Linked DNA regions of Homo sapiens: all the other regions are linked to region 3. Evidence: promoter capture Hi-C in 16 types of primary human blood cells and fetal thymus (Javierre and others, 2016). All regions are on one chromosome and are shown on one strand. Each heading gives the region's core, a stretch centred on a gene start or on the middle of the fragment in contact. The rest is flanking DNA. Distances are from core to core; before and after follow the strand shown.

Evidence for each region. Contacts are between HindIII fragments. The CHiCAGO score rates a contact against its expected background, and 5 or more counts as called.
Region 1: a fragment that was not itself captured here is called in contact with the fragment with the promoter of FANK1 in region 3 in 1 of 17 cell types (M2 macrophages); the score reaches 5.6 in M2 macrophages.
Region 2: a fragment that was not itself captured here is called in contact with the fragment with the promoter of FANK1 in region 3 in 1 of 17 cell types (naive CD8 T cells); the score reaches 5.0 in naive CD8 T cells.

Annotation. Positions count from the first base shown.
Region 1 is chr10:126,901,570-126,904,669 of GRCh38, reverse strand. LOC105378550 (a long non-coding RNA gene) reads left to right here. Exons shown (of 2, transcript XR_946449.3): 1 at 1-110; 2 at 228-3,100. Among named protein-coding and RNA genes, the nearest start is that of DOCK1, 2.3 kb to the left of the region's middle. The HindIII fragment of the contact is 1,573 bases long and covers 797-2,369 here.
Region 2 is chr10:127,851,324-127,854,666 of GRCh38, reverse strand. No RefSeq gene overlaps it. Among named protein-coding and RNA genes, the nearest start is that of CLRN3, 40 kb to the left of the region's middle. RefSeq lists a silencer at 498-577. The HindIII fragment of the contact is 5,917 bases long and covers 1-3,343 here.
Region 3 is chr10:125,894,607-125,897,967 of GRCh38, reverse strand. It overlaps FANK1 (fibronectin type III and ankyrin repeat domains 1), which reads right to left and starts at 1,404. Exons shown (of 11, transcript NM_145235.5): 1 at 1,313-1,404. The coding sequence starts at 1,325. It also overlaps a transcript of DHX32 not described here. RefSeq lists silencers at 834-1,128, 1,220-1,359, 1,520-1,599, 1,820-1,899. The HindIII fragment of the contact is 2,086 bases long and covers 312-2,397 here.

The sequences.
Region 1 (3,100 bases), core at 334-2,833, 1.0 Mb before region 3:
TGCTAGAATAGTTGTGGGACTCAGGATCTGCTGAAGTCGGGGGAAGAGAGAAGTAGGGAAAGGAAAGCCCAGGCCACGCGTGGGGCTCAGGAACGGCATCCTCGCCCGAGGTGGGAGTTCTTCTCAGGCCCTGGTGTTTCCCATGACAGTAAAAGGTGGGGGCTTCAGATTTCTCCAAGGGAAAAGTTAAAGCAACACACACCTATTTATTTTTACTGTAATTTCAGAAAAGAGAGGTTAAAACCAAGACATGGACAAAGCCTCCGAATGAAGGCAGCCCTTTAAATGGAATAAATTTGGTTTCATGGCACATTAATGGGGTGTCTTCTCTCCGAAGACACAGAGACAACTACAGTAGGTCTGGGGGCCGTCAGGGATTGGAGGAACGAAGGTAAGAAAAGGAAGAAGGTAAGAAAAAGAGGTCCCTACCTCTGTGAGGTAGGGACAGTGCTGAACAGCAGGGCTGGGAGAGCCCACAGGGAGGTGGCCAGGATGGCCACAGGGCCTGGGGAGGACCAGGTGGGGCACCATCCTGCGGTAGAGAATGCCCGTCACCTGCCCTAGGGGCCACCCAGAATGCAGATTAAATAAGTATTTGGGAATGGCACAGGAGCTTTTCCATTTTCGTGGGTTAGAGGAAAGCTGCTGCGTTCAAGAGGATAACGTGGGACCTGAGCATTCTGGTAAGTCAACCCCACATTCATGGAAAGCCACGGGCTCTGTTTTACTGATAAGGAACTGAAGTCCCACAGAGGAAGTGGCCAGGCTCACTCACACACAGCATGCACTTGAAGCTTTCTGTGGAAATCAGAAACCTCCGGGGCTCAGGCGCTGTAGTGGTGGCCTGGTGACTCTGACCCCTTGAAGGAGAAGCATCTGTGAAGGTGCTGTCCAGGACAAGTAGGGTGCTCTACGGTAAAGGACATGGTGGCCTGACCTGCTCCAGAGCAGGGAGGCCTCCCTTGAGGAAATAAGATAAACCCAGACTTTAAGGATAAGCAGAAACCAGCTAGGTGAACTGGAGTGGGAACAGCACGTGAAAAGGCCCTGGTTTAGGAAGGAGCACCACTCCTTCAGAGCACAGAAAGGCCAGGATGGCCGAAGCATAGGGAACAACAGGAAAGTGACATAAATTGAGGCTGCAGAGGTAGAAGAAGGGCCTTATTGGTCGTGCTAGGAATTTGGAATTCTGCAAAGAAGCCTGGGAAACAGATTTTGGTGACACTCGCCTTCTCTTTAATGTGCAGTTTCAGTTCTGTTGGTGTGATTCTGCATTGGAGATGGCGTGCTGTAACGAATGGCCAGGAGCTTAAGAGTCATGCAGACTTGGGAGGCCTGGCCTTGCCACGCCCAGCTGCATGGCCATCCTCCTCCTGTTTCTGGCCGTTCTGTTTCTAAACCTTGGGGTTCTGATATTCCTACATGTAAACTAGGGGCTGTAATAGGAATCTCACAGGTGAGTCTTAGGATTATAAGAGGAGACATGACTGCATGTGTAAGACATCATAATGATGTGCTTCCTCATCTGACCCTACCTCCAGGTTCTTTGATAACCTCATGGTTCCCATTTTCTAGAACAGTTGCCACTTGCACTCAGATAAAGGTGACTCACTGAATGCATAAATAAGTGTAGTGCCGGATTTGCATACTTTTGGTAGACTGTCATATAATAAATTTATAAATCAGAATTTTAAAACTCCAGGTGGGGCCGGGCACAGTGGCCCATGCTTGTAATCCCAGCCAGCATTTTGGGAGGCTGAGGCAGGCAGATCACTTGAGGTCAGGAGCTCGAGGTCAGCCTGGCCAACCAGGGTTTTAGTAGAAACCCTGTCTGTACTAAAAATACAAAAATTAGCTGGGCGTGGGTGCGCATACCTGTAGTCCCAGCTACTCAGGAGGCTGAGGCAGGAGAATTGTTTGAACCCAGGAGGTGGAGATTGCAGTGAAGCAAGATCGCACCGCTGCACTCCTGCCTGGGTGACAGAGTGAGACTCCATCTCAAAAACAAACAAAACAAAACTCCAGGTGGACCACGGGCCAGGTGGTTGTAGCTTCAGTCCCTTGATTGCAACATGTGCCCAAGTTTGGCTGAGATGTACCTGTAGCCACGGTCCTTGAAGCCCTGAGAAGATTTGTCAGCATCCCCACGGTGCTCCAGCAGTGCTCTCATCTTGTGGCTCTAAATCGAGTCCATGGCCCTCTCTCACTGTCCTATGGTTGCATAAGCTCAGAACTGGCTTCGTCTCCAATTCCAGGAGCCCTGGAGGTTGTGGCCTGTTGACATTTTTACCTCCTGAGTCAATGTGGCTGGGCCACAGGTCTCAGTTGCCCTCCCAGGCATCTTGCAGGACTTGGATCTGTGCCAAGCTTGTGGGTGTGAACAAGCCCAAGAATGCTGAGGCTCTCAGTTGCTCAGTGCTGCCCATCACTGGGATTTCAGAGTAGTGACCCCCCTCCTCCAAGATACAACAGAATCTTGCTTTGGGGCCATGAAGAACACAATCAATATTACAGTTTTAAATCTTGAAAAGTACAGTTTTAATTTTTTTAATTCCAAAAAATTTCACACATGTGCACTGCAAATTCAGGAGGTAAATTCAGCAAAATCTTGCCTGGTGGAGGTACCAGAAGGCACAGTGAGTCAATGGGGCATGTTTCTCAGTCGGTGGGGAGAGATGAGAATGGAACAGGGATGTGGAGATTTTATGCAGGAAAAGGGGCCTGACCACAGATTTTTTGCCCTTTGAAAGGAGAGGAACAAGGCCTATGCCCACTGCCTCTTGGATTCAGTGGGAGATCTGGGCATCATACTGGATGACCAGGCATGTAGTCACAATGCACAATGCCACCCAGCCCAAAAGTGTATATTCAAGACTTTAGACCCAACTTCGTGCTTACAGGAAATAGAGGAGGTTGAGGAACAAGTGACACCATAAGAAATACAGTGAAACAGGCCAGGCACCGTGGCTCATGCCTGTAACTCTGAGCACTTTGGGAGGCCGAGATGGGCAGATCACCTGAGGTCAGGAGTTCAAGACTAGTCTGGCCAACGTGGTGAAACCCCATCTCTACTAAAAAAAAATATCTGGGCATGGTGGCA
Region 2 (3,343 bases), core at 797-3,296, 2.0 Mb before region 3:
GCTGTCTGCAGCTGCCTTTGCGTCACAATGACAGGGCTGTGTAGGTGTGGCTGGGAGCTTATGGCCCACAAAGCCATGCGTATGCACCACCTGGCCCTTTACAGCAAGGCTGGCCAGCCCGACCTTCCACGAGCGTTTCTCAGCGGAAGCAGTGTCACCTCTGAGTGGGTATTTAAGAAATTGCTTCTGGTGAGTGTAGGTCAAGCTCATTGCAAGACAAGTTCCATGCTATAAAAGCTACTTTTCTTTAAGTTCTTATACTTCCACTTTATATTAAAGTTAAGACATTATGTTTATCTTTTGCGATTTGGAGCATAGATAGGTGATCATCTGTATGGGTTTCATTACAGGGCATTAGAGAGCGTCTGTTAGAAGAGCAGGGCATTGATTTTGATGCAATGAGGCAGTTTCTTTAGAGGGCCCACGAGGCCCTAGATTCCGCATCAGCTTTAAGTGGCAAAGCCACACAGCTATTTCAAGAGCACAGCACTAGAGGGCAGCATAAGCCCATGAGTGCAACGCCAGAGCTCTGCGCCCTGGGCACCGCCGCTTCCCGAAGGCTGCAGGACTGGGGAAGGCTTGTGCCACCAGGACCTGAGCACTCAGCAGGAGTGTCAGGCCTCTGGGCCTGGGTCAGAGCTGATGGAGAGACCGTTCCAGCATGTGAGACGCTGGAGGGAACTGAAACCCACCTGCTGCACATGCATACTTCCCCGGTGGTTTTGGAAATGCTCTTGTTGTCAAAGATGTCCCTTCACACGGGGCTCTGCCTTCCCCACTGCCCTCCTGCACAGGCACAGCACATGTGTGCACACTAAGACTTCCAGGAATCTGTCCATCTAGCTGAACTGATTTTTCCCCCCAATTTATTCGACATTAGGATCTTTCGTGCGAGCCCGCGTGTGTGTCTAAACTTAGCCACATCAGGAAGCTGACACTGGTAAGTGATGACTTAACATTGTGGGAGATGTCCTTCTACACACCTGTGGGTTCCATGGATTCAGCCAACTTCGGATTAAAAAACAGTTTTATGTTTCTTTGTTTTTTTTTGTTTTTTGTTTTTTTTGACGGGTTTTGTTCTGTCACCCAGGCTGGAGTGCAGTGGTGTGATCACGGCTTACTGCATCCTAGACCTCTGGGTCATGCAATCCTCCTGACTCAGCCTCCCGTGTAGCTGAGGTCACTGGTGCCCGACCCCACATCCAGCGTTTTTTTTTTTTTTTTGTAGAGATGGGGTCTTACTTTGTCTCCCAGGCTAGTCTCCAACTCCTAGGGTCTAGTGACCCAGCCTCCCAAAATGCTGGGATTATAGGCGTAAGCCACTGCACCCTGCCAGGATAAAAAATACTTTAAAAAACAATAAAAATCACAATACAACAATGAAAAATAATACCAATTCTAAAAAGACAGTATAACAACCATTTACTTGGCATTTGCATTGTATTAGATATATATAAGTAATCTAGAGATGATTTAAAGTACACAAGAGGATTGTGTAAGTTCTATGCAAATACGACACTATTTTATATCAGGGACTTGAGCATCTGCAGATTTTGTTACCATGGGGGTCTTGGAACCAATCCCCCTCGGATACCAAGGAATGACTGCATATATATATATATTTTAAGTTGGGATTCTTGTTCATTTTCAAACCATCTTTGCTAATATGGCAGTTGGCTTCCCTGGGCAGGAGGGAGCATGCCATGTGCAGACAGCATGCCCCTCCCCTACACAGGAAAGAGGGCCTGTGTGCACGGAACTGCATCCGTCTCTAAGGGGAGAGCGGGGCTCCTGGATCCTAGACACTCTGACACAGCATCCATCACACTTGTGGGCCGGTTTGCTTCTCCTGATCTCTAAGTCTCTCTCAGGCTCCCTCTTGTCCGGGGACACTGTGACAAAAGCAGCTGGAATGTTCAGGATTAACAAGACAGTCTTATTTAAGAAACAGATGCAGAGCACCCTGAAACCCCTGGCAGTGCCCGCGTTGCCATGGCTTTTCCACTCAGCGTGGAAGACCATGAGTCGTGCATCTCCCTGCTGGACCATGGCTTCTGGAGATGGAGGATGGCAGGGCCAGGTGTGATGTTGTCCTCCTGTCCAGCTCCTCCTGCATTGTAGGATGTCTGTCATAACCTGGTCTTAGAAGCCAAGAAGAAATGCAAACCTGTCCCAATAGGCCTCGCTTTGGCAACAGCCAGTGAACAGGTAGATTAACGTCACCACTCAGGCCATTTGGTCACCTGCTCACCAAGGTGCCACCACCACTGACACCAGGCTTATGAGGGTTTCCATCCCCATTTATGATGCTACCAGGAAGCTGATTTTAGCCACAGCCATTTAAAAAAACAAAACCTGTTGTGTCCTTGTAGATCCAAAGTGTTGGAAATCTTCCCTTTTTCCCCCAGCCTCGCCCACCTACCATTTCAATGTAACCTCCCAAATTCTTCCACAGAGCATTGTTGAAGGCTCTGAGAATCTTTCAACCTCCTCCACAAAGCCCTCCAGGGCCCCCGTCACAGCATTCCCTTGGCATTTTATTTGTGGCTCTTGGACACCGTTGTCCCCACCCTTCATGACAGGCCGGGGACTCCTGGCACTGGATCCTTTTTGCGTAAAGTAAGCTGATTGAATTAAGCACGCATCACTGAAATGCTTTGCTTTCCATGGAACCACACTGCCTCTGAATGAGAATCTGCTGCTCTTTAAATGCTCACCGACCCGCCGTCAACGAGCTGTTGTGAGGTTCTACCAGGAATCGGAGGCGTTATGCACAGACCTCCTTTCCAGCCTCTCCTCCCTGCCCCTTGTGGTCAATGCTGCTTTGGATGCTCCCATTTCCTGGGGGCCCGGAGATCCCGCTCACCTAGAGGGGATGGGCCCTGCTGGCTCTTCTCTGTGTCCTGCCTGGCCCTGCCATCCTCCTTCTAGCTGCAGAAGAGGGGAGTCTGGGGACTAGGGCCTGCCTCCTTCCCCTGGGGCACAGCTTCTGCCAGGCACAGCGCCATCCCCCAGGTCACACCAGTTCTTGGATGTCCCCATCAAAGCCTCTTGTTCCTCCTCTGGAAAAACTCTAAGTGGAAATTATAAAAAGTTCTCCAGAAGGTCTAGTCAGAAAAGTCTTGAAAAGACGAGCGGTCCCTAGAACTCCAGGCCAACCCCAATCTCTCTGACCTCCCTCCTCTTGTCCTCTTCCCTAAAACCACAGCCTCTCCCCTCTACTGGCACCTCTTGTCCCCATGAAGCATCCTCTGGGCCCCTCCTCAAGGCAAACACATCAAGGAGTTGCCTGGGGCACCTGCCTTCTTCTCTGCTGTTCCACCCCACTGGGTGGCACCCGATG
Region 3 (3,361 bases), core at 155-2,654:
GGCCAAGATGGTCTCAATCTCCTGACCTCGTGATCCGCCTGCCTCAGCCTCCCAAAGTGCTGGGATTACAGGCGTGAGCCACCGGGCCAGGCCAAGTTGCTGTTTTTAAAAGGTATATTTCAACTCACTTCTCTAAGGCGGGAATATACACAGCCTGCCATCAGTTTGACATAAAACAAAAATTTTAGCGTTCTTGTATGCTAAATTTCTTTTACTAGGTTAAAAAAATGTAGAATCCAAAGAGCTGTAAATGCAAATGACAAATACTGTACAAAATCTATCAAGCAACTATAAGTCACAACTTGCAAGCTTTCTCCTCAGCAAATGAGTTAAAAGGAAAAGTATTTGAAACTTTCTTGGTGGAAAACGAATGACCTTTAAAAATGCCAACATTTTCCCCAGAGAATAGATTTGGTCTGAGTTCTTCATTTCTGAAATTGTACAAGATAAGACGACTTGGTTTGAGAGTCAAACTGCATCCTTCTATAAAGGTTTTAGATAAATTTTAAGTCTCCATACAAAACACTCCCCTTATTTTGAGAACAAAAGGAACAATAAGACAGCTTAGGCGGGGCAGAGAAAGAAAGGCCTTGAAACAAAGTCCCTGGAAAGGTAAAAACAACAACAAAAATAGTAAGTTAGAGCTCGTGTTTAGATCTGATAACTCAAAACTGCACAACTTTTGCCATACATCGAAAGCAACATGGGAAAACAGAAAAAGAGATTACAAACATTTTTTGAGTGTCCTAACTTGTAGAACCCCTAAGAATGAATCAAATACACTTGGACAAAGCTCTTCTTTTCTCTCTCTCTCCTTCAAGTCGCAGACTAGGGGTGTGGGGCGGGGGGCGGGGAGTAAGACGGGGTCTCTAATAAATACAAGACCCAGCCTCGGACGTGTTTAATTGCTGACATTTTAGAAGAAAAATGGGCTACTTACAATTAATGAACCAAACTACCAAACTAAAATCATGAGTAGGAGGAGGAGTAAATGGAACCGTCCGGGCGAAGTTTCAGGAAGACGCACGCTGGGGTCGCTGCGCCCTTCCCCACCCATACCTCGGGGCTCTCCAGTCGCTCCCAGCCCCCAGCGCGGACTCTAGGGCGCCGGCGGCCCAACCATACAGACTTGGCAGGATGTAGCCCCCTTCTCCCCTCTCCAGGAGAGAAAAGCGCGAGGAGACGCAAACCGTATTTCCGTGTCCGAGCGTTGAAACCTGCGGAGTCGCGCGCGGGGCGCCCACACTCGTTCCCGGGGAGCCCCAGCCCGGTCGCCCGCCCCGGTCCCAGCTCCAGCCCGGGCCTCCCTTACTCTGGGGCTCCATGGTCGGCTGCTCCCCGGCCTCCGCGGGCGAACCCCCGGACTCCTAACGCCTCTCAGCCAGGGCCGGCGTCGCTACGGTTGCCCTGACAACCCGGAGGCGAAGTGGGCAGAACTAAAGGGACGGCGAGCGGGAGGGACCAAAAGCCGCAGGAAGTGAGGGAGCGCGTGAGGACCCGCGCGTCGCCGGGGACACTGAGCGAGGGTAGCGGCCAGGTCACCGGCTGAGGACACTGCTCCTGAAGCCCGGTCAGGCGGTCGCGCCCTCCCTGGCGGCCCCCGCGGCCCCGCAGGACCTGTGCCCCGACGTCGCCGACCCGCGGTCCCCGCTGTCGCCGACCCGCGGCGTCCGTCGGGCGAGTGGGCCTGCCCGCGGGTAAGGCGCCGGCCCTGGGCCGCCCTCCCGGGAATCGGGAGCCGCCGCTGCAGGTAACAGCGGGGCCCCGGCGGCGGAAGGGGTCGGGGGTCGGCGCAGGGGCGGGCGCGCCCCGAGCCGGGTGGGCGGCCCCGGCGCACCTGTTGTAGCCGCCTGGGGGTCCCCTGCCCGCAGTTGGCCGTGGACGTTCCCCGCCCCGACTCCGAAACGCCGAGGGCGGCCTCCGCGCCTCCTGCTCCGGGAGCCGCGCCTCAGCGGGAGGACGGAGCCCTGCGGGCAGCCCTCGCACCAGGGGCTCCCTCCGAGCCCGGGCATGGGCCGGGCCTGGGGCGGTCCCTCGAGCCCCCCTGACGGGAAGCGTGGAGCAATGCGAGCCGCCGCCGTCGTCGCTGTCGTCCCCAGTGAGCCTGGCGCGTCTCCTGAATCGCGAGAGCCAGGAGCACGGTTTTGCCCGGCTTTGCCCCGTCATCCCCGTGTCCCATTTCAGGCAGGGGGCCCGGGTTGGATCTTTCTCGCTGGCTTCGTTTTTTGTGTGTTGATTTGTTTCAGTCCTTCGCGTTTCCGGTTGAGTTACGGAATCTGCCCACACGTTTTGTGGCCAAACTTTGTAGGGCTGTGAAACAATGTAACATTATCCCACACAATAGTCTTTCATACTGGTTTTAAAACACAGTGATTCAGGGTTTGCTTTAAGGAAGCTTTGAGGATCACAAGAGATTATTATCTGGTAGGTTGTAAAAATTCAAACAACCAGGAGAGTATCATAGGTTCCGGAACACCAGAAGGAGGAAAGAAAAATGGAGACGAGAGAAAAAGGATAAGCAAGAAAGTGCAGGGGCATTAAGGGTGTGGGGGGCTGCAGGATTGATTTGGTATTCAGGTCTGGAGATTATGGCCCCTCTATTAATTCCAACCGCTGCTCCAGACAGTACTTGAGGGAAATGGAAGGAAGAGCCGTTTTGGGGGTCATGGAAGTGATTACTAATCTTGCCAGTAGAAAGATTTCCACTCCATGGATGACAAGGACACTAAGGAGAATTACTTTCCTCTTAGGGAATCATTGAGAGGTTAATTGAACTTGAGAAGCATATATTCTGTGATGGAAACTGACATTTATTATATTCTTCCAAATTAGGTTTTCCCCCTCTCAGACTATATGGGGACTTTTTCAGATTAATTGTCAAAACAAGAAGGTTTATGTGTGGATATTGACAAGCAGCGTGATATATACAGAACACATAATTCTTAAGCTGAAGTATTAAGGTAATAAATTAAGGGTGGAAAGTAAACACTTCATGGAACCTTAACTCCCTGTTCCTGAAATTTAGAGACAGGGGCTTCATTTTTAGACAGAAAGTATAAAGATCAGCAGTACTCCTGTATCCAGTGGTTCTCAAGTTCTAGTTTACATATCATTAGCAAAATCACAAAGCGGTCTTTTCATTCAAGATACAAATAGAGTGATCAGTATATCATAATCAAAAGTGACAAGATAGTGATTTAAAAAACACCTGGCATTTATTGACAAAAGAAAAGGTAGGATTAAGTCTGCTCAAACAGTAAAGGATTAGCATTAGTATTTTTTTAAAAAGAAGAAACAACAGTGCAGGTCTCTATGCTAAAGTAATAAGGACTGAAGAAGTTTTAAGTTTGGAAAAAATGGG